Regions from separate parts of the Homo sapiens genome. Here all the other regions are linked to region 1. The links are contacts of gene promoters, found by promoter capture Hi-C in human tissues and cell types (Jung and others, 2019). All regions are on one chromosome and are shown on one strand. Each heading gives the region's core, a stretch centred on a gene start or on the middle of the fragment in contact. The rest is flanking DNA. Distances are from core to core; before and after follow the strand shown.

What was found. Contacts are between HindIII fragments. The study calls those that stand out against the background at their distance.
Region 2: a contact is called between a fragment that was not itself captured here and the fragment with the promoter of TTC23 in region 1, in 1 of the 25 tissues and cell types used here (lymphoblastoid cells).
Region 3: a contact is called between a fragment that was not itself captured here and the fragment with the promoter of TTC23 in region 1, in 1 of the 25 tissues and cell types used here (lymphoblastoid cells).
Region 4: a contact is called between a fragment that was not itself captured here and the fragment with the promoter of TTC23 in region 1, in 1 of the 25 tissues and cell types used here (lymphoblastoid cells).
Region 5: a fragment that was not itself captured here is called in contact with the fragment with the promoter of TTC23 in region 1 in 1 of the 25 tissues and cell types used here (lymphoblastoid cells).

The regions. Positions count from the first base shown.
Region 1 is chr15:99,246,064-99,250,830 of GRCh38, forward strand. TTC23 (tetratricopeptide repeat domain 23) reads right to left here and starts at 3,518. Exons shown (of 14, transcript NM_001288615.3): 1 at 3,108-3,518. The HindIII fragment of the contact is 13,786 bases long and covers 1-4,767 here.
Region 2 is chr15:99,905,147-99,909,870 of GRCh38, forward strand. No RefSeq gene overlaps it. Among named protein-coding and RNA genes, the nearest start is that of LYSMD4, 170 kb to the left of the region's middle. The HindIII fragment of the contact is 4,214 bases long and covers 424-4,637 here.
Region 3 is chr15:99,835,348-99,840,190 of GRCh38, forward strand. It overlaps the pseudogene LOC400464. Among named protein-coding and RNA genes, the nearest start is that of LYSMD4, 100 kb to the left of the region's middle. The HindIII fragment of the contact is 3,380 bases long and covers 1-2,970 here.
Region 4 is chr15:99,887,293-99,892,112 of GRCh38, forward strand. No RefSeq gene overlaps it. Among named protein-coding and RNA genes, the nearest start is that of LYSMD4, 160 kb to the left of the region's middle. The HindIII fragment of the contact is 6,167 bases long and covers 1-4,820 here.
Region 5 is chr15:99,790,396-99,795,231 of GRCh38, forward strand. It overlaps LOC124903563 (a long non-coding RNA gene), which reads left to right and starts at 1,161. Exons shown (of 3, transcript XR_007064776.1): 1 at 1,161-1,246; 2 at 1,984-2,084; 3 at 2,174-4,836. It also overlaps the pseudogene DNM1P46 and the pseudogene RN7SL484P. The HindIII fragment of the contact is 4,285 bases long and covers 237-4,521 here.

The DNA.
Region 1 (4,767 bases), core at 2,268-4,767:
CCTCCCAAAATACTGGGATTACAGGTGTGAGTCACAGGGCCCAGCCTGTTAGGCAAAGACTTCTGAGATATAACACCAAAAGCATAAGTGATAAAAGAAAAAAAAAGATAAATTAGATTTCATCAAATCCAAATCTTTACTGCTTCAAAAGACACTATTATTAAAGTTAAAAGACAACCCACAGAATGGGAGACAATATTTGTAAATCATTAATCTGATAAAGGACTTTAACCACAATATATAAAGAACAATTAAAAATCAGTAACATGGGGCTGGGCGTGGTGGCTCACGCCTGTAATCCCAGCACTTTGGGAGGCCGAGGTGGGCAAATCACGAGGTCAAGAGTTCAAGACCAGCCTGGCCAACATGGTGAAACCCTGTCTCTACTAAAAATACAAAAAATTAGCTGGGCATAGTAGTGGGCACCTGTAATCCCAGCTACTCAGGAGGCTGAGGCAGGAGAATCGCTTGAACCTAGGAGGCAGAGGTTGCAGTGAGCTGAGATCGAGCCACTGTACTCCAGCCCGGGTGACAGAGTGACACTCCGTGTCAAAAAAAAAAAAATTTATTAACATGGGCTGGCGCGATGGCTCATGCCTGTAATCCCAGCACTTTGGGAGGCCAAGGCAGGTGGATCACGAGTTCAGGAGTTCGAGACCTGCCTGGCCAACATGGTGAAGCCCCGTCTCTACTAAAAATACAAAAAATTAGCTGGGCGTGGTCGTGGGCACCTGTAATCCTAGCTACTCGGGAGGCTGAGGCAGAAGAATTGCTTGAACCCGGAAGGTGGACATTGCAGTGGGCCGAGATCGTGGCACTCTGCACTCCAGCCTGAGCGACAAAGCGAGACCCAGTCTCAAACAAACAAACAAACAAACAAAAACCAAAAAAACCAAAAAACAATCAGTAACAAGATGACAACTCAATTAAAAAAATAGGCAAAATATTTGAAAGACATTTTACAAAAGAAGATATATGGATAGTCAACAAGCACATGAAAAGATGCTTCATATCGTCAGTCATCAGGAAAATGCAAATGAAAGCTGTAATAAGATACCACTTAAAATCCAGCTGAATGACTACAATGAATAAGACAGATCATAAGGAGTGTTGGTGAGGATGTGGACAAATTGGAACCCTCATACACTCTGGTGGAAATGTAAAATGGGAAATTCACCTTGGAAAGCAGTTGTGCAACACCTTGAAAAGTTACACCCAGAGTTACCATATGACAGTAATTCCACTCGTAGATATACACCCAAGAAAACTGAAAACACACGTTCATACAAAAACTTGTACCCATCTTCATAGCAGCATTATTCATAATGCTAAATACTGTACTGTATTTACTGTAATACAATTACAATTAGTACAATTAAACACTATATTTAAATACTAGAAGAAATCCAAATGTCTGTTAATTGGTACTGTTAAATAAAATGTGGATTATTACTTAGCAATAAAAAGGAATGAAGTAATGAGACATACTACAACATGGATGAACCTCAAAAACATTATGCTAAGTAAAAGAAACTAGATGCAAAGGATCGCATAATGTGTAATTCCACTTACATGCCCAGAAAAGGTAAATTTATAGACAGAAAGTTTTTTAGTGATTGGGGCTGGGGATAGGAAACCAGGACTTGCCTGCAAATGGGCACAAAGTATTTTTTTAGGATGATGAAAATTTTCTAAATTTTCTAGGATGATGAAAATTTTCTAAATTTTCTAGGATGATGAAAATTTTCTAAATTTTCTAGGATGATGAAAATTTTCTAAAATTGGAATGTGGTGATGGTTGTGATTTTCTAAAACAATCATTGAGTTATATCCTTAAGACAAATGAACTTTATAATATATAAATTATACTTCATTAAAGCTGTTAAAAATAGCTATGAAACCACAACGCAGTTTTATGTGTAATTCTGGTTTTTATACATATTATGACAAGACTTTTATAAAGACGGGGCAACCATGACTCCCCAAGACAGTGTGGCAGCGGTCCCCAAAAATCTTAAAGAAGTAAACTCAATGCTTTCGAAGACTACAAAGAAGTGCATCAAAATTTATATTATTCAACAATGATAAGGTAAATGTATTCGGGTAAGAAGCATGGTTACTAACCTGTGTGCCAGTATTTACACAGCATGGGGCCCCTTAGCTTCTGGTCTCTGCTCTGGTCTAGCCATCTTAAATTCCACTGTCAGTTTTATTGTCTTCAAATATTACTTTCATAAGGGGTGCCTCCTGTTCCAAACACAGGACCCAAACCCCTGATTTTGGGAATTCCGGCTCTTTATATTTCTCATGCTGCTTTTTAAAATTTGTAACCAAAGTTTCCAAATGAACCTTCTGCCGCAGTCAGAACCAACTCTTCCTCAGGCTGCATGTATTTGCTAACAACTCACTCACTAGTAGGGATGCCACTTCCCTTATTTTTCTCTCTGAAATTCTGCCCATTGCTCAGGCCCAAATTGAGTCTTACCCATACTGTGAAGCCTTCTCTGAATAATTCATCTCACATTGAGCTGAGCTCCTGAAGCACCTGTGCTCTACAACAGTCATCCGGGCATTAAGAACTGTTCAGAAGTTTTAGTTTAAATGTTCTGAGCCTCATTTGTCCCTGCTCTTGAGGGGCTGGATTTTATTACTTTATATTCCCCTATATGGATTAACACAGGCAACTTAAGAAATAGTCATGTTCATCAACGTTTCCTTGATAAATTCTTTTGTATTTGTTTTAATTAAAAATGTCATTTTTGAAATATGATTGCTGGATTTTTTTGAGAATTTACCCTTACATGCTGATTCTGCTTCAGGTATCTGTAGTATGTTTTGTTCAGCCATTAGCAGATCTGTCCCTGGAATCCCTAATCCACAAATATACACAAAATTTGGGTTCAAGCAACTCTATTTTCTCCTATATCTTTTAATAGATATATTATCTATTATGCCAGGTATGACAATATATAAACAAAAATATCCATATAAAAATTACAATATTACTAAATGTCCTTCTAAATCCACACTTAAGCAACAATAACGAAGCACAGTTTCTTAAAGTAGAAAATGATCTATAGTTAATCTTATTATCTTGCCTCCTTTACCTTTCAAAAATCCACTGATAATCTGGGCATGATGCTTTCAAACTTCACCCTAAAGAGAAAAATGCTCTCTGAACACTCTTCTTCCTGCTGTCTTTAAATTGTGCCTGTATTTTCTCTGCTTTTCCTTTGACACTCAATCACTCCTTTAAAACTTGTAAAAAACCGGAAAAGTTTCTGTAACTCTCCAATCTCCAACTATGTCGTAAAATCCCTTGCCAGTTTACCCAGTCTGCTGGAGAGGCTCACCGTTTCTTTTTCGAGCGAATTACACAGTTGTCTTGGCAGCGTGATTTGCCCTCTGGTTCCTGCTTTATCAGTTTGGTGATTCTTTGTACAGATTGATAACCATGAAAAAGTCTAAAGTAGGGCAGTTCCGGAGCAGCCTTTTCCCATAAAGCAAGCGGGTACCTCACAAAACTCCAGGCAAAAGAATGAATGATAGAGCACTCACCAATAGCGAGTGGAGAAGAGTATTTTGTCGAAGTTTGCAAACCAATCTTTGGGAGCCAGAGGTGGGAATTTTAAAATGAGGTCTTTTCCTTGGAATTTTCTTAAAGTGGTATCGTTGCCTGTTGATATTGAAGTTTGTCAAAGAACGTGAAATCACCAGCTTAGAGGATTTTTTTCCCCTTTAAGAGAGACAAAACGTGCGAATTGATTCTCTACAAATTGTGAGAACTTCAAGAGTGGGGTCATAAAGTATTATCAAATATAATCACTTGGTAACTTTTGTGTCAATGTGGGGAGGAGGTGAAGGTTATTTTAACATGATTCATTTTTCATGATCAAATATCAGATATTAATCACTGAAAAACAGTATTCCCCATTAAAAAAAAGAAATGAAAACTAAGAGGCTAACATTGTTTTCAAAAAACTGTTCTACTGTTAATCTTTTTTCTTTTTTGGGGGGTGTAACTCTTCATATATTAGCAGCAAGTCTTATTATTTGGGCTGACCATTAAACACCGTATCTTTGTTTTTACACAAAATGTGGATTTCCTCATTTTAAGACCAGCAAAAAATTTCTGAGTGCCACGAATTCTTAGGTATTCCGAAACTATCTTAGAAATACATGACATATACCAACCATGCTGTATACCTGAATAGCTCTTGAAGACCAGATTTAATAGATAACTGATAATTTTTATTATAACTCATACCTTGTTTTAAAACCAATGTTTTTTATTTAATATAACTCTGCTTTCTAGGTTATTCGTCTCTATGAATAATTAAGTCAGCAACTGTAAAAACTACTTCATTATAAAGTTAAAGTTCCTTGACAAGGAGCCTCGCAAACTCATAGACAGGCTTTCCACAGAACAAAAAATATCAGCGGTTGTAGTAGAGGATTATACTTTAAAATCTTCATTTCAGAAGGAAATTTGTCATATTAATGAGACACTTTAAAAAGTGTCTTTTAAAAATGTTTCCGAACTATGCTTCCAAGTATTTTTAACAGCATAAAGCCCTCTTTCATGCTATTTCGCTGACATAATAATTTTCGTCTTGAAGAAATACATATTGACGGCCTACTCAGTCAGGCTAGGAAGTGTCATTGTATTTAACTCTCTAAATTGTTCCTGACCTTTTTAGCAATCTTTACTCAAAATAAACCTTGGGTGTTTGAAGGGCAGAGACTAGGTTACGTCCTCCTCATCTT
Region 2 (4,724 bases), core at 1,281-3,780, 660 kb after region 1:
ATAGGAAAACAAGCTATGTACAGGTGAAGTAGTTTAGATAGTGCTACAAGATGGTATCTGATTTCAAGTTTATGATTGACAGATAAGTACAGATAAAGTCTTTGGAGAAAGAGATCAATGTGGGCTGGAATTGTCTGAGAAATTTTGCTAAAAGTCAGGTGACTTGAGCTGGCTTTAACATTTTGAGGTTAAGGGACGGAGGGTATTTTCTGATGTCAAATGATTTGAACTATGGTTTCCTATCACATAGGGATTCATTAAATTGTATTTCACTTGCTCTCATTTTTCTTAGAGTTGCAGGGTTATTCATTTTTAATGTCTAATTTTCAGGCTCTCACATCAAAGGGAGCTATTTAAGGAATATTCTGTGGCTTTAGTCCTGAACACCTTGCTCTATCAGAAGCGCCACATAGCCTCTCATTTGTAAAACTTGATGCATGTACAGGGCACTTATTGCAGTGTCAAGGTACAAAAATTATTTCAATTTAAACTATCTTCACACTGAGAACCAAACTTTAAGATGTTTTAATGAAGAAAAACCCATGCGACCGCCCATCCATTCCTAGGTACCATCTGCCTTCAAATGCCCTCCTCCCATTTACATATCTAATTCTTCAATGGCAGTAACAGATCACTGCACGATTTTTGCTGGAGGAAAGAAATAGTAGGAGCTTTTCATAAAGCACATTTATGTCTCTGAAGGTTTGAAGTCAAAAACTAATGTTATGAAGAGAACTGATTTTATACTTACTCTGACTGAAATTAAAATGAATATTGGTTATATCTGGAGGGATTTTGTGAAACAATGCCAGTGGAAGAATGAGAAACTGAATATACACATACACATAACACTTTTATGACTGAGATGGCATGGGGGCCACTGAAGCCGAGTAAGAAGCTGCCACACCCATCATCTTGATTGGCTTTCGTCTTAAATGCACTTGGTCTGACACAATTTCGTCAGGGAAATGCATACTCTATGTGCCAGGGAACCAAAAATTAAATCTCCTTTCTTGTAGCGGAATGCTTTCTCTTCAATCTAGCCTGAATCTGAATCTGGCTTCTAGGGCAAGACTGAAGATACACTGGAGTTAAATATTAAATATTATTTTAAAAATTTCAATGCAGACTGAAACTACCTCACTTCTGTCCTAGTCAAGAGAAACAAAACGAAATAAATACACAGCAGTACTGAGAGTAATATGGGCCCAGGGTTTACATGAGCGGCTCAGAGATTTCTGGAGGACTTCTGAAAGACAGGAAGTTAATGAGATTCTATTTATATGAGTTTCCTAGGGCTGCCATAACAAATTACTACACGCTTGGTGACTTAAAACAACTGAAATGGATTCTCGTGCAGTTCTGGAGGCTGTTATACGAATAAAAGAGAACAGAGTTGCTAGTTGTCCAAAATTTGCCCAGAAGGGAGCAGAAGAAGTAGGGAAGATGGATACTATTGTCAAGGGTAGGGCCTCAGGAGGTTTTAAGCTTCATGTGATCAAATGAGTAAAGCAAAGTTGTAATGGAACAAAAATCAGGGAAATCATTGAGGTTTTGTGGATGAATAGTTCTATGTCTTTCCAACTTCCCTTTCTCTTCCCTCCTTTTGGCCCATTCTGAGATAAAAGCAGGCAGAGTTGCCTTTACGCCTGACCTTCTTGCTAGCTACGACCAGCAAATAACACTCTCATGTAATAACCATTCTTCCTGAGTAGGATTAGTCCTTTGATTTATTATGATTCTCTGGCATTTTAGGGCAATCTTAGCTGCTCTCCTGCTCATGTCAAGGTTGTCTTGACATGCCTGTCTGCACATAGAGTTCAGAGCCAGCCTGCCCACTCAGAAGACAGACCTGCTGATGATGAAATCATTCACAACTGAAACAAAATCTTACAGAAGCTACGTGTGTCAGTCATCTAGTTCTTTCACATGAATATAAACAGAGAATCAAGGATCATCAGACACATGCAGCTCTCACTCAGGATTTAGATAAAAGTCACTTCCTTGGGAAAAAAATGATTTCTACTTTATCTGTATCGCTCTTGAGTTCAATCAGTAGAACATTCATGAGAAATCCACCCCATGATCCAATCACCTCCCACCAGGCCCTACCTCCAACATTGGGGATTATTACAATTCCACATGAGATTTGGGTGGAGACACTGATCCAAACTGTATCACCTGCATACACATTAATTCTTTTATTACTCGGAGCTAGAGCACCAGGAATGAGATTGCTAGATTGAAGGGTATATCTAGTTTTAATTTTAATAACTGTTGCCAGGTTGCTTTCCAAAAATGCCATAACAATTTATGTTTCAGCAACAATGTATTAGAGAATGCTTTCCCTGAATCTTTGCCCACAAACATATTAACACATTTCGTTTTTAATCAGTTTGATGGGTATAAAGTGTTGTGTTGTTTAATTTGCATTTTTCTAATTACCGACAAACTTCAGCACCATTTTCTGTTGGTCATTTGGATTTGAGCCTCTGTGATTTGCTGTGTTAATTGGATTAGGTTTATTTGCATATGGCAGAAAAACCAAAAACAACAGAGGCTTAAATTGGATAGAAATTTGTTTTTGTCCCTTGTAAAAGTATTCTGGAGGAAGGGAGTGCGGGATTGGTATTGTGGCTTTGCAAACTAATCAGGGACCCAGGCGTCTTCTAGGGCTGCATTTTGCTCTCCTTAGGGAATGGCTGTGGTCCTCAGCCCCACGTTCCAAGATGGCTGCTAGAGTGCCAGGCATCACACCCTCATTCCAACCAGCAGGGGAGAGGCAGGCACAAAGGAGGACACACTCCTTCCCTTTAAGGAGTCTTCCTGGACATAACACACAACACTTCTGCTTGCATATATTGAATCAGAATTTAGTCACATGGCTATACCTATCTGCAAGGGAGGCTGGGAAACATGGTCTTTCAATTAGATAAATGGCAACTCTGAGTAACATCAGGATTCTATTACTGAGAAGGATGGGGGTTGGGGGGATGGCAATTGAAGTAAGTACCTAGAAATCTCTGCTAAAACTGCCTTCCTTTTGCCAGTTTTTTTTCCATTTGGCTATTTGCCTTTTTTTTTTTTTTTTTTGTCAATACAGATGGTCCCCAATTTACCATGGTTCAATTTAAGGATGTTTTGACTTTACAATGGTGTGAAAGTGATATGCATTCGATAGAAACTGAACTTAAATTTGGAATTTTAGTGTTTTCCTGTGCTAGCCATGTGTGGTACAAGACCGTCTTGCAATGCTGGCCAGCTGCAGTGGCTACAGCTCCCAGTCGGTCACTCAAGTAGGAGGGTAAAGAACTGATACTGCGGCCGGGCGGGATGGCTCATGCCTGTAGTCCCAGCACTTTGGGAGGCCGAGGCGGGTGGATCACGACGTCAAAAGATCAAGACCATCCTGTCCAACATGGTGAAACCCCATCTCTACTAAAGAAATACAAAAATTAGCTGGGCATGGTGGCATGTGCCTGTAGTCCCAGCTACTCGGGAGGCTGAGGCAGGAGAATCATTTGAACCTGGGAGGTGGAGGTTGCAGTAAGCCGAGATTGCGCCACTGCACTCCAGCCTGGAGACAGAGCAAGACTCCATCTCAAAAAAAAAAAAAAAAAAAGAACTGATACTCCACAGTGGACTGCCTTGCCAGATGATTTTGTCCAGCTGTAGGCTAATGTCAGTGTTCCGAGCGCGTTTAAGGTAGGCTAGGCTCAGCTATGATGTTTGGTAGGTTAGGTGTATTAAATTCATTTTCAACTTAACAATCATTTCAACTTACAATGAGTTTATGTGGATGTAACCCTATCTTAAGTTGAAGAGGCTGTGTATATGTATGTATGTGTGTGTTTATGTATCATTTCTTTGGAGCTTTTTGGATTTTGGAATTGTAAACAAGAAATTGCGACCCATATTTTCACCCCTATTTTACAGAGGAGGAAACTGAGACACAGAAAAGTGAAGTAACCCGCCTGGGGTCACACAGTAGAGGTCTAAGTCAGGATTCAAAGCCAGCAGTCTGGCCCAGAGCTCCAAATCTTTGGCCTTACAATACTTTGCCACCGCAACAGCGTGATCGGTGACAGGCCCGCTGTCTGTCCTGGGACGGGTCAGCTGAGCCCCCATTCTGAGAGTGAGCCCTCTGGCTGCTTGTTGCACACTGGGCTTGGGTTGCAGGGCTGCAGGCCCCCTCGCTGGCTGGCTCCTGGAAGCGCTGTGCTCCCACAAAAAGCCAGCCAGGCCTGAGGGCTCAGGGCTCACAGGTCCATGGAAATCAGCCCCAGGTGACTCCTTCCCACCTCTGCCCATGAAATGTGCCTCCCAGGCTCCAGGTTTCCCCTGGAATACAGGCCCCTGGTGTTCCCAGTGCTGTACCTGCAGTGTCTGCTTTGCTCTGAGGCCATGGCATTATTGACTTAAAATAAGCTGCTTGGGCTTTTAAAAAACAAAGAATCTGCAGACTCTGTAGCCCTTTTCCTTTCCACCTGTGCTGGGGAGCATGGCAGTGGAGAGGGTGGGCAGGCCGCTTCCTGTTGCGTAGGTCAGGCCCCCCCCAGCCCGCCCTGCTCCACGCTCTGGCCCCTCTATCAAGAGCTATTTCTCATTTTTTCCAAGCATGAGGTTCAGGTGTCTCCATCCTCCCAGGCCCCCGGCCCCCTGCCCAGGGATGCCTTTTATGGGACCATGTCTGCCCTCAACTGGGCCGCCCTCCGAGTTCTCTC
Region 3 (4,843 bases), core at 31-2,530, 590 kb after region 1:
AGTAGCTTCATTTTGGAAACACCAGCAGTGACATTTTTATGAACACACTACATTTCCGTACACACACACGCACACACATACATACACACCTCTGTTTAAGACCTTGAAACCCAGAAAATTCTAAAAAAGTAGATCAGAGATGTACTTCCTTTCAACAAATTCAACCAAATTTTGGCCAAAAATATCTTTTTGTGAATACTTTGTAAATGTATACCCTCATCTATTGAAAATTATGCATAATGTTTCCAGTTCTGTTGATATGCTTCGGTATAGGGTGGCATTTTTTCCTATTTTCAGTTAAGAACTGAATAGAACCCAATTTTGAGAAGGATTGACAAATGAGATCCCTTCCTGAAGCAACTATGAGGGGAATATAAGGTCCACAATGTAGCTCCTTTTTGAAATATTTGTGATTAACCACTGAATTACACTAATCTCTTTGTAAAATCCTGCATTATCATGTAGCATATGCAGTATTGGAAATTTAAAAAATATATGTAATTCTTCTATACACTTCGAATTTTTAGTCCAAATGTCAAATGATAAATTATAAATGCTGAGCACTAATGTTCTCCCTCCAAATTGCATTAAAAGTGCTCTGCAGCATAGGAAATGGAAATTTTAATTCACTAGTCTACTTACAACCTCAAATTAATCTTCTTACAACATTTTCTGTCTTACAAGTATATTTACATATCAATTTACTCAACTGAAATTAGAACATTTGTAAGAATTGATATATGCATAAAAATGTTGATTCTGTATAATTAGCATTTTTATTATTGATAGCATTTTTTAAATTAGAAGAAAAAACAAGGTTTATTATGTTATGAAAAGCCAGCAGAAACATGCAATTGCGAGATTATATCCTTAAATATTCACGGATGTCCTGTTTCCGTTTTATTTACCCCAGCTTCTTGACTTAGTAATCTTGAATTCAGCAAATATTTATATATGTTGGCTAGGTATCCTTTACAATACGTAGTAAAAATCACTGATAACTTGAATGAAGCATTGCAGGAAGTATCCTAAACAACACTAGGAAAAAAATCTATTGTTAATATATTGAAAATTACAAAAGTAAATCCATCCCTCTTATGCTAAAATAATGAAATTTGTTCTTTGTAATTTCCTAGAAGTAGATGGATAATTTACAAATTTTTGATTAGTATATTATTTAACTTATTTTTTATTTATTTCATTTTTAAAATTTTGTTGAGAGGGAGGCTCTCTGTGTCACCAGGCTGGAGTGCAGTGGCATGATCTCAGCTCACTGCAACCTCCGCCTCCCAGGTTCAAGCAATTCTCCTGCCTCAGCCTCCCGAGTAGCTGGAACTACAGGTGTACGTCACCATGCCCAGCTAATTTTTGTATTTTTAGTAGAGACAGGGTTTCACCATGTTGGCCAGGATGGTCTCAATCTCTTGACCTTATGATCTGCCCGCCTCAGTCTCCCAGAGTGAATTTATTTTTTCAATGTGAAGCAATTTAACGTATAGAAAAGGGAAGCACGTAATATTCTTTTCACTCACATGCTAGTGATGCCTTCTCATTTTCAGTAGAGCACTGCTTGGAATTTTATATGATTGGGCATTTGCACTTTATAGCAACAAACTGATCAGTTGGTGGGGTGCTGAGATAATATGTGCTAATATTTCATTTATACCGTAATTAGGAGGAAAATTATTGGAGACATGTCAGCTTATGTGTGAAATACATTCAGGGTCAGAATACAAAAATCACAAGTACACATAAGGCATTTGGCATAAGCTTCCTGACCAAGCTTCGAAGTGTTACAACATAGATTATTTGCCTCCAATTCAAAATGTCTCTTCCCTTAAATTAGGGACATAAATGGAACCATATTTTTCAGTGCTTGAGAAAGCATCCTTTTAGAGCAATGGTATTGAATTAAGAAATTCTGGTTCAGAATACAGTGGAACTTTAGTGTCCCATGGACAACCCTTCAATATTTCTTATTTATTTATGAACTCATAATCAATCCTGTATATTCAGAGAAGACAGAAATAATGGCTGAGATCTTTTCCACCTCAGTTGGCTTGATTTTCTAGGCATAGATATACTGTTGCTTAGGATCATAGAAAGAGCACTGGGGCAAGGGTCAGGAGAGCTGAATCCTAGTCCTTGGTTTGACACTTATAGGATGTGGGATTAGCCTCTATTCTCCTGTCTGTAAGTACCTTTCCTTTCTTAGAGTTGTGACTATAAGGATTTTATTTTTATTTTAAGTTTTAATTTCTCATCTCCTCCTTCCACAAACATATAAAAACTCGACACCGTCCCTCAATTATCTTGTTAATGCCTCTTTCTTTTCACTAATTTTATGGCCAAATTACTGTTGTTCCTGGGGAAAAAAATAAATGACAAGAGCAAATCTCTATCATTTTCAAGCCCCAGTGGTAAATAATGTTAGCAGTTTTGGGTGGATCCTTTCAGAAATTTTCAGTGTATATATATTCTCATTATATGGTGATGAAATTATTCTCTACAAACTCAATTTCTACTCTTCTTTTTGTAATGCAATACTTATTGACCACATTTATATTAACATATCCTTTATAACATCTGCATAATATTCCATGGAACGGTCACTTTGTAGTGTAGCTAATAAGTTTATATTAATGGATTTTTTTACTATTATAAATAATACTGTAATAAGCATCTTCATATATATTCATCTAGATTGATTCTTAGTGTAAATTATTAGTGGTGCCATTGCTGGATGAAAGGAAGTGAGTGTTTTAATTTGCCAGATATTTGTAATGGCTCTTCGAAAATTTGGAACTATTACAGTCTCGCAGGTAGTGCATTAGCATGTTTCTTTCCTTTATCTTTGCCAAAATTGAATGTTTTACAGCTAAAATTTTTGTTAATCTGATATTCTTATTGTTTCAATTGACATTTTTTAAAAAGTTATGATTGAGGTTGGACTTTTTTCATATGTATATTAATTATCAACATGCTTTTTCTGATTAACTCAATAATTTTTAGTAAGTTGTTTATATGCTATGATTTCATTTTTACCACCTACCCCACTTTACAAATAAAAGAATAATGTATTGTCAATATGGATAATTTGGAAAATGTACAAAAGTTAGCAAAACAATCGAACAGGAAGCTGAAGAAGGAAGGAAAATGCTGCTATCTTGATAAAGTAAGTAAAAAAAAAAAAAAATCTATTGGATTTGATGACTGGCAGGGTGATCCAAAGCCTAGAATCTTACCACAGACCCAATCAATCACCAACTACCACCAATTTCTTCTTCTCGTATCTCACATTATCTCTCTTCTCAGCCCTTTGTGTTCACCATGGTATTTGATTTCTGATTATTCTTTCTCCAGACTAGCCCTGCTTGCAACTTCCACGTGCAGTCCTCCGCAATGCTGCCAGAGCGGCAGCTACAACTCTATGATTGAAGGCATCGCCCTCCTGGTTCTCCATATTGTTTGCCATCTTGGACAGATAAACTAGATGAGCTCTTTTTTCAACACTCAGAGAATGTTTTGAATTCACATTTCTGCCATCTTACTCACCTATTCGAATCAGTTCCCTCCCCCTCCCTTGTATCAAATATTGTCTCTGATAATAATACATTGAGTTATTTGTAGTTCCTGAAGAATTTCATGTTCTTATAACATGAAATTTTTTCCCACACTATTTGTTATAACTAGTTTACCTATTTCTGCCTAAATAAAATCTTCTCCAAATTTCAGATCAGACATTACTTTAGGTGAAGACTTTCCAGTCTGACTTCCCTTACCCGAGGTAGGTATTTATTCTTTCCTCATTTCACAGGACTTTGCAAATCCCACTATTATGGTAGATAGAATATTAAAATCTAAATTGCTGGCTTGCGTGTCTATTTTTTCTACTCAGGATGAGTTCATTCTCAGTAGTGATCATGTCTTTGGTTTTCAACAAAAGTGGTTTTCTTTGGATTTTCCAGAAACAGAACCTAAGAGAAGAATTCATGTGAAAATAATTTATTAAGGAAGAGCTCCAGGGTAGATAAATAAGGCAACTAGTGAAGTAGGGCAAGAAAGAGAAGGAAGTCAGGCAAGTGTGTGATCGCCATGCAAAGCCCAAGAACAGCCTTTAGCCTGACTCCACAGGGAAACTTTGGAGCGTAAACTAAGCTTCAGGGCTATTCCAGACTATGGATCTGGGTCTTTCGTCAGTATCTTTCAGTCACTGGTTAGTGGAAACCTTACGGGGATTTAAACTCCCAGGCCCTTCACGCCCTTTGTAAGCAAGGCCCAGGTAGCTGCAGTAGCTGAATGGCATTTCTCCAAAGGAAAAAAAACCATGTAGGCACTCAGTAAATTTTGAATGGCTGGCTGGCGGGACGAATGGATAAATGACGAATTATGCAACTTGGGGTGGCTTGAAAGACAACAGGGGGACATTGAAGACTTTTCACGAAGACAGTGGTACCCTCAAAATGATAACTTGAGTAGATAAGTTTAGAAGCATTGAGTAGAATAGATTAATGGAAGGAAAGCTAAATGCAGGAACAGTGTTTAACAGAAAATTGCCATGGCGATAAAGGCCTGTTCTAGCATGGAAGCAGCGGTATGCAAGATAAGACATGCCTTGGATTCATATTGGAAATGAAAATTTAATCATTCTTGATGACTGTCGGCATTTGTGAGATAAAGGAAAAGAGACAGAGTGGGGGTTTTGTGTTCAAGTGACAGTGGGATTCCTTACAGAAAAGGAAAATCTGAACACATTGGGAGTTGAGTTATTAGGATAGGCTGGGGGCAGAGATAATGTTAAAAATTCAGCTCTAGATGTGATGAGAGTCAGTAGGGACAAGCA
Region 4 (4,820 bases), core at 1,098-3,597, 640 kb after region 1:
TTTTTGTTTACTTGATAAACTCAGTGCTTTAGCTGGGAGGATGTCAGACTTAAATGCAATTTTACAGTCTCTTCGAAGGATACAGTTAGTCAAACATCAGGCAGCTAAAGTATCTGTCTGGCTCCTGAATGTCTTCAGGTCATGGAAGTAAGTGCCCTGGTTACAGGTTTCTCCAAATGAACGTTAGGAATATTTCCTTTTCTCTACGTCCATGTTGAAAGTTTTTTCTGTTTTGTTTTGTTTTGTTTTTACTTTTTCCTGGCATTATATACTGAACTCCAGAAGATGAGGATGTGGATGGTTGAGATATGCTTTTGGAACTTGGAATTAATAAAGGCAGATGCTAAATTGCTGAAAGCATTAAAACCTGACACTGCGTGTTAAATCATTGTAAGCAAGGTCCTAACAGAGCGTTTGTGATTCGTAAAATAAAAATTAAAAAAAAAATAGTGTTCTGGGCTCCCTGGATATTTTACATCAAAGAGGCGGAAATGAACAACAAACAGCTGAAGCATTTGTCTCTCCATATTGTAGCTGCTGGTAATCTTCAGCGCTGCAGATCATGCCAAATAAGGTGGAAAATCTGTGTACTTTCTGAGTACTCTTTAAATTATTAAATATTATTTTAATGTTGTCACCAAACATGTATACAAAGAATTCATAAAGAGGCTGTTTTAGAATTAAATTGTTTTATCAGTTTTATGACTTTAGAGTTATACTGAATATATCTACATGCATATATATATGTATATGTATATATATATAAACCTTGTGTAAAAGTATATTTAGGAGAAAATCTTCACTTTAGATTTTTCTAATATCTTAGTTGGGGCATTGTTGGGAGCAAGCTCCCCAAAATCTGTCCATAAACTGGCCCCAAAACTGGCCATAAACAAAATGTCTGCAGCACTGTGATATGTCCACAATGGCCCTAACGCCCAAGCTGGAAGGTTGTGGGTTTACGGGAATGAGGGCAGGGACCACCTGGCCTGCCCAGGGTAGAAAACTGCTTAAAGGCATTCTTAAGCCACAAACAAAAGATGAGCGATCTGTGTCTTAAGGGCGTGTTCATTCGGCCTATCCCTTCGTTTCCCATAAGGGATACTTTTAGTTAATTTAATATCTATAGAAACAATGCTAATGACTGGTTTGCTGTTAATAAATATGTGGGTAAATCTCTGTTTGGGGGTCTCAGCTCTGAAGGCTGTGAGACCCTTGATTTCCCACTTCACACGTCTATATTTCTGTGTGTGTGTGTGTCTTTAATTCCTCTAGCGCCCCTGGGTTAGGGTATCCCTGACCAAGCTGGTCTCAGCAGGGCATATTATATGCCATCTGAATATTTATTTATTTTAATTATTATTGTACTTTAAGTTCTAGGGTACATGTGCACAACGTGCAGGTTTGTTACATATGTATACATGTGCCATGATGGTGTGCTGTACCTGTTAACTCATCATTTACATTAGGTATATCTCTTAATGCTATCCCTCCCCCCTCCCCCAACCCCACGACAGGCCCCAGTGTGTGATGTTCCCCTTCCTGTGTCCAAGTGTTCTCATTGTTCAGTTCCCACCTATGAGTGAGAATATTCGGTGTTTGGTTTTCTGTCCTTGCGATAGTTTGCTGAGAATGATGGTTTCCAGCTTCATCCATGTCCCTACAAAGGACATGAACTCATCCTTTTTTATGGCTGCATAGTATTCCATGGTGTATATGTGCCACATTTTCTTAATCCAGTCTATCATTGGCCATCTGAATATTTAAACACGGTGTTTTATTTTTCATTTATGTCTCACTTTATTTTGTGTTTACATCTTAGCAACGTTTCTTTCAATACTTCCCAAAGTAGGTGATATTTTCTGAGAAATGAATATGGATGTAAGTGAAAAGACTAGAGGCCTGGAGTTTTAGTTTGGGGACTGCCACCAGTTATAGGTGTGGCCTTGGTTTGTCACTTAAATTTTCTGGGTGAACAACGTTTCTTCATCTGAAAAATTAAGAGTGTTAATTAAATTAAGTGATTCAAGGTCCTCACAACATCTCTATCTGAATGACAATGGATGTGTATACTTAGAGACAAGTATGAAAGTTTCATGTAAGAATAGCAAATAAGAGCAGTGACAAATAAGTGAACTAGATGAAATAAACTGACAAAAGTAACAATATATTTTCACATTGTCACCTTTGATTTTATGATGATTTTGAGAGAGCTCAGGAGCAGGATTCTATTTTACAGTAAGCAAGAATAAGGTTCACTAAAAATATATGACTTTCTCAAAATTACCGAAAAGATTATTCCATAAAACAAAGTGAATACTATCTTTTGACTTCCAGACAAGGTCTATGCACAACTCATAATTGTAGGTCTACATATGGTAGGTGATTCTTACTACAACCATTGTTTATGACAGTATAATAATAAGCTAATATAATTGTGCATAAATGCGTGAGAGAATGATTTAGATTATCATTGACAGAACACTGGCTAATTTTATCGATGTCTACATTGGCCTGGAGCGAATAGGTATTTGGTCTGCTTTGTTTTTAGATCCCCATTTAAACTTTGAAAAGGGGGCATAAAGCTTTCTCTGGTTAATTATGAAAGTCTTCTATGACAGTTTACTTACAAAGAATAGTTAAGACGTGAATTTAATAATGAGGTGCAGAAAATATGGTAAAGCATCTGGATCTCTGCCTCCTTGAATCTAGATAATGATTTGGAAAACTGAGATTTTAAAAAAATTATGCCATCAAATATCATTAAACACCTAGAGGCATGTGTTATTGAACCAGGTCTTATATCCACTACACTGGACCATATGTTTTCACATAAATACCTGCTTAGCTACATTACGATAATATTTGCACACATTTTAATCACATCCAAATTACATAAAAACACAATAAGATGCACCGGGTGAAGTAAAGCAGCGACGATTACAAATGTTTGCATGTTAATGGCCTCTTGTGTTTGACATAATATTCAATTTAAGGTTGGAAGTAGATGGGAATGGGGACATTTCATTTCAAGCGATTTTTTTTTCTCCTTTTTTTGTAAACATGACAGAGTCCTTTAGCTAAATTTGAAGGAGGGCTTTTCCAAATACAGGAAGCAGCCTGAGACATGTTTCACCATTGGTTGCAGAAAAAATTGGATGATGTCAATGATGAGAGGGTTATCAAAGATGCAGAAGAGGAAACGGGTTATTGCTATAGGATCACAACCCTCAAAACTGAAGGTGAACTTTTTAGAATGCTTTACAGTGGAAGGGCGCTGATGCAGGCCTGGCAGCCATCTTTGTGAAGGTAAAGCAGAGAAACAGACAAGGAAGCAGGGTAAGGAGTGTCTTACCCTTCATTCAAGAATTTTACTTAAAATCTCCCCATGTCAGTAAGGCACTGCACATTTGCTCTCACCTGTGTCTGCCATCCCCATGTTCAGAGCCTTTTAACCCCTTGTCAAACCTTTCCAGAGAGTAATACTCCCATGCCTGCTTGCACCGAGCTGGGAAGTAAAGTGTGGTATCTGGTAGCTACTTAAAAGATCTTCAATCAACCCTGTTTTTAGCTCCATTTCACACTCCTCCCATCTAAGGAAGCTGGTTCTCCACTTTCTGAGCCTTCTTGGGGTTTAGCAGTAAATAGAACTATATCTTTCTGGCAACCTGAATATAGGGTTACATTTCCCCTTCTCTGGCCTACTGAGTCAGTTACTACCATACCAGATTATAAAATTTTGTCGATGTGGGTTTTCTGCCTGTTGTTTCCTTTTCTACACTCTTTGTCCTTGTAGTTTATGCCAAAAAAAATTCCATTACATACATTTTATTGGTGTTTTGGGAGGATGGGGAGATAAATGTATTTAAGTGGAAGTTCTCCCCACTCTCTCTTTAATCCTCTCCAATCAGACCTTCATCCCTACAAATCCACTGAAATACCTTTGTCAAGGTTACGTACGTCTTACTTGCCATTTCAGGGCATTTGATGCTGTTGGTTATCTCTTTCTTGAAATACTTTCTTTCTTTGACTTCTTAGACACACACACTGTACAGGTGTTCATCTGATTAGTTGCGTCTTCTTGGTCTCCTTCACCGTGTCCTTCTTCTCAAGAAAGTCTGGGTACTTATGGGCTCAATTCTAGAACATCTTCTCTTCCAATTCTAAACATATTTCCTGGTTGAAAAAATCCAGTCCTCTAATGCCGAGTGCCATCTCTGCTGATGATTGCCATATTTATTCGTCTAGTTCTGACATCTATCCTGAGCTCCTGATTGTTTTATCTAACTGCGTACTTAACATGATTCTCCAGATGTCTAATAAACATTCAGAAAAGAACTCTTGAACCCCCATACTTCAACCTACAATCTTCCTTATCTCAGTACATAGCATCGACACTCACTCAACATTTACACATTCATCTCATCAGCAGTCTCCTTCCTCCCTGCCTTCAATATATAACCCAGATGCAATCACATTTCCACCATGGAACCAGCCACTGTCATGCACTCCTGCAAATATTGTCATCTTTTCTTCTTATTTCTCCCTTTTTTTCTCTACCGTTAGTTCTCAACAGACAGAGATGGTTTAAAAACTTATATTAGTCTCTGTATCCATTCATACTTAAATCACCCCAGTAGTGCTGAATCTCTCTGATCTGCTCTCTCTTGGCTTCTCAGTTCATCCCCATCCCTCAACCTCACTTACTGCACTCTAGTCACACAGGCCATCTTGCTTTCCCTCCATTGAGCCACGCTTGTTCCAATATTGGGACTTTTTGTAATCACTGTTTATCTCCGACCAGAAGATACTCTCTGCTG
Region 5 (4,836 bases), core at 1,129-3,628, 540 kb after region 1:
CCAAAGTGCTGGGATTACAGGCGCAAGCCACCGCATCTGGCCCAAAAGCTTTGTGTTGTTACAGATATTAGACATGTTTCTTGTTTAAGAAAAAATTTTTTAACAATAACATAGGAGAATAAGAGAAACCTTTTTCCAAAAAAAAGAAACTTGTGATTATTTTATCTTATTGGAATGTTGGATAATATAGTCTGCTTCGTTAATCATCAAGCATGCTATGGATTTTCCATTTTTATAGGATCTTTATCTCAGTTATGGTAATACTGGTAATTTTTGTACTGTGTTTGAAGATGAAAAATATAGGCCAAAATCGTAGACCTTGCATAGAAGCTGGATAATGAAGACAGCTCTGGAGGAACACATAGATACACACACACACACATATACATAAAGTATACACACATATATTTTTTAAAGTTTTAAAGCTTTTAAAGCAAAAGCCGGCCCCTCCCCTCTCCCAGAGGGGGCGGCCCCTCCCCTCAGAGTAGGCGGGGACAGCAGTTGCATGGACAGCTTTCCTTGTGAGCCACAGGTCCCTCTGGACATACTGCTGCCTGGCCACACCCCCTTTCCCTTTCATCTTTGTCATTGACCAATGGGCTTGGAGCATTAAGGCCACGCCCCTGTTCTGCATTCTATGGGGGCCCTAGTTGTGCCTCCTCGGGCTCAGTCACACAGCTGCCTGGTAGGCAAGTGGAGGTGTTCATCAGTGCTCACTGGGATTTTGCTCACGTGGCCCCAACCCCGCCTCCCTCCCCACCCCGCAATGGCAGAAGAAACTCAACAGAGCAAATTGGCCGCAGCAAAGAAAAAGGCAAAGGTTGGAAGAGACCTTTAGAACAGCTGGTCCCTATGCCGACCGGGTGCCCGCACTAAGTTTGGCATCAATATGATGTCCTCCTGGGAGCGGGGGGCCACCAAGTTGCCTAAGGATGGCTGAACTGGCCCAGGTCAGAAAGGGAGCGGGTCAGAACTCCCACATCGACTGGTAGTGGGACTATGCCTGATCTTGGTTCTTAAAAGTAAAAATAAAGAACAGCAGCTGCTCTCTGGGTAGTGGCTGGCTCAGTGTTACACAGTGAGGGTGGAGGCAGAGGTGGGCCCACAGTACCTCCCTTATTGGGCTGTCTGAGGACCCTTCTGGCCACCCCCCACAGGAGATAGAGGAGGACATCTGGACAGTGAGGAGGAGGCACCTCGGCCCATGCCAAGCAACCCAGAGGACCTGGAGAGCTGGGAGGCCACGGTGAGCCTGACTCCCCCTGTACCCATTTTGCCACCTTCCTCTGTGGTCCCTCCAAGACCCCTTTATGCTCTTGGTTTCCCTGCCTTCTGATTTCTCTGGACCCTCATCCCTTCCAGGAGCCAGTGGTCAGACACCATTTCACCTGTGACCAACAGATGCACTCTCTGAGGCCCCAAGGGAAGAGGCTGCACTCCACCTCTCTGCCCCGTTCGTTCTGTGTATGCCCCTACAAGAATGCTCACCTCTTGCCCTCAGGTTGCATTTTTCAACTCCGCTGGAGCCAATGCCCAGGAGGAGCAGGCACGGTTATGAGAGCAGGTGAAAGAGCAGAGGGTGTGCTGCCAGCGCATGGCTCACCTGGTGGCCTCGGCCCAGCAGAAGCCAGAGGCAGCGGTCCCAGCCCCAGTGACTAGGGGCCAGTCTGTGAGTGGGGAGACCCACCGGGCCATGCAGGAGGTCATGGAGAAGCTGGAGGTGACTGAGTCCTGGCATGGGCCAAGAAGGGCAGGGGTGGGTGTTGCTGCCGAGATGTGACCCCATTATTTTGGCTCCAGAGTGGCCTTATGGACCTCCTGGAGGAGAAGGTGGACCTGAGGGAGCGAGCGGAGAAACTAGAACTTCGATTCATCCAGTACTGGAAAGACAGAAGTCATCAGTTAGTGGGAGGCCAGGGCACGGCAGGGGGAGCTGCAGGGCCGTCGGAGGGACCTCAGCGTCTGAGCCCTGTCCTCCTGCAGGAAAGTTCATCACCCTAGAACACAGCCAGGGGGCAGTGCCAAAGATGCGGCAACTGGAGGAGGACATCATCAGGCTGGCCCAGGACATGGAGGAGATGAAGGTAGGGTGTGCAACATCTCTGCAGGGGTGGGGGTGGGCGTGAGGGTGGGCGCCGGTAGATGCATAACAGCTGAGCACCCCTCCCTCCAGGTGAAGCTGCTGGAGCTGCTGGAGAAGATGTTGCGGCTTGTGGTGACTACAACGAGGGACACAGCAAATTCCCGGCCACTGCCCTGAAGCTTGCTGATGAGCCTGGTCCAGGAGCCCCAGCCCCCCAGGAGCTTGTGGGTGCTGATAAGCATGGTGGTGAGTAGAGTCCTCAGGCAGGGTGGGCAGGCAGGGGCAGGGGAGGCTCTCACTGCACTCGGATCCCCACCTCCTTCTCTCCAAAGATCTTTGTGAGGTGAGCCTCACTGACAGCGTGGAGCACCCAGGCTTGTGCAGCAACTCCCGTATGCCATTCTTTTGCTGGGCTTGGCTGCTGAGAAGAAGGAGATAAACATCACCATCATCAAAGAGCTGCTCAAGAAATTTTAAAAAAGGAAACAAAGTTATGGGGTTCATCTCCTACCCAATTCATTTACTTCATTTGAATGTTAGAGCCACTCATGATTATTTGTAATTTATAGTTTATTTGTAAAAAGTTAAAGGAGAGTGGGTCTCTGTGGCTTTCACTGATGTTTACTCTGGCATCCTTCAGCATTTTTCTTTTTTAGTTTCATAGTTGTAGGTCATTAGCATGCATATCGAGTTTGCCCTTACGTGGTGGGAGTTCAAATACACAAAGACCCACTATTTGCACAAAATTATTATTGCTGGTTTGGAATAGGCTGCCATGCTTTTTTAATGTTATCGCAGCATGTATGTTCATTACGGAATTCAGATAAAATTTGCTTATGTTCTGCTATTGTTTGATCTAATCTTAATCACAGTGAGCTCTTCATTAGCTCAATATGTGGTTTGCCCCCAGGTGTGCACTGTTTATTACTTTGTAATATGCCACTATGAGTACTGACATTTAGAGTTGTTTAAAGGCCGAGAACTGGAAACAGCCTTTCCCCTATTTTCTGTGTATTGGTGATGGGAGTAATAACATTTTGGGGGAGCTTTTAAAATCTCACAGAAGAGGAAAGTGGCCTGCTGTGGCAGGTTTGTGCAGGATAGAGTGTGTTTCATTTGTTCCGGTGCCAACAATTAGCGCTGTACTATGGTAGTTCCCTTCGGATTTGTATGTGCTCTGGGCTCATGAAGATATTGCATCATGAGCTGCAGCAGTTGTACTCTTTCTCGATGACCTAAAAACTGATCATTTCTGAGGAACGAAAGGCTCCCTTCATTGACTGTAGATGTGGAAAACCTTTCCTAGCTTAGAGCATTTGTGTCTATAATACATTTTAAAGTCAGAGTTGATGTTACCTGTTTTAATCACATGACCACATGTCCCAGTACACAAAAGAGTGCTGGCTGGCATTCTTCTTATTTAGTAAAGATCATAAGAAATCCTTTAGGAGTTTAAATGTCCCTGGAACAGGCATACAGGCTCTAGTCAAGAATGAATTAGAGTGAAGGAAAGCTTGTGACACCTGGCATTCCTCTCTGTTCATGGAGCTTCTTTGAGGCTTGAAGATTGATTTTTACCATCTACACCTCTCTGGCTAATACCTATTCTTCAACCACCTTGGTTACTCTGACATAGGAATTTACTTCTTTTCCTTGAATGGAAAACACTTTAAAAAATAATAACAAACATTATTATAAACTAATATATGTGAGAGTACTTAGTTGAAACAAAAAGGAGTTTTAGTAGACAGTATTATACTATATTTGATAATCAAGGAGATGTTTATGCAATTTAAAATGTTTATAAACTGCAGTGCAGTCTACTGTTTGTGAATGTCAATGTATTATCAGGAAATGTGTCTATACAATCACAGAGTTATATTTCCTCACAAACTTGTTTACTAAGAGTGAAATATGTTTTTGTACCTCTCAGTTTCAGTTAGGGACATATTTTGTGCAATATTTATGTGATTGTGCCTATGCATGATGAACAAATGATTTCAGTCATACATTGCCTAAATCATAACTTGATGATGCTTGGGAAAGACTCAACAGTTCAAACTTCATGAAGTTCTAATGTCTGTGTTCCAAAACACATCACATTATTAGGATGTAGGGAGATGTGTATATGCGCTCCCTGGGGTGGGGATTTCTAGTTACTAGACCATCTCCATTTTTAGCATTTGGCGTCCTCATGATACTTTTCTAAATATGACATTAACAGGAGAGCAACAATACGATTTTACCGATGGAATAACAGATTTGCCTGCATTCACTGAAAGAGCGCAAATATTGGGTCCTTGTGACTTCAACTGACTCTTCCAAATTGTATGAATGTATCAATGTATTAGATAAACCCAGTTTCAGAATGATAAAGAAAAAATGTTAGACCAAATAACACAGCTAATTAACAGTGGTACGATTTCTAGCCCGTGGGTTTAAAATGGACCTAAAGTCCTGTTCTTGCCTTTTATTTTCTGAACTTGCTGCTTTTGCATTCTTTGAGTTCAATTTAAAGACAGTTACTTTAAGTCCATTTTAAACCCTCAGGCTAGAAATCATACCACTGTTAATTAGCCACATCTATTTGGTCTAACGTTTTTTCTTTATCATTCTGAAACTGGGTTTATCTAATACATTGGTAAATTATTTCAAAGGTACTTTTATTGTTGAAATCACTTCACTTTTACCCTGATAAATATCAATGACTAGGAATGACCTTCAGATAGCATTTAGCATCTGTAACCAATCTG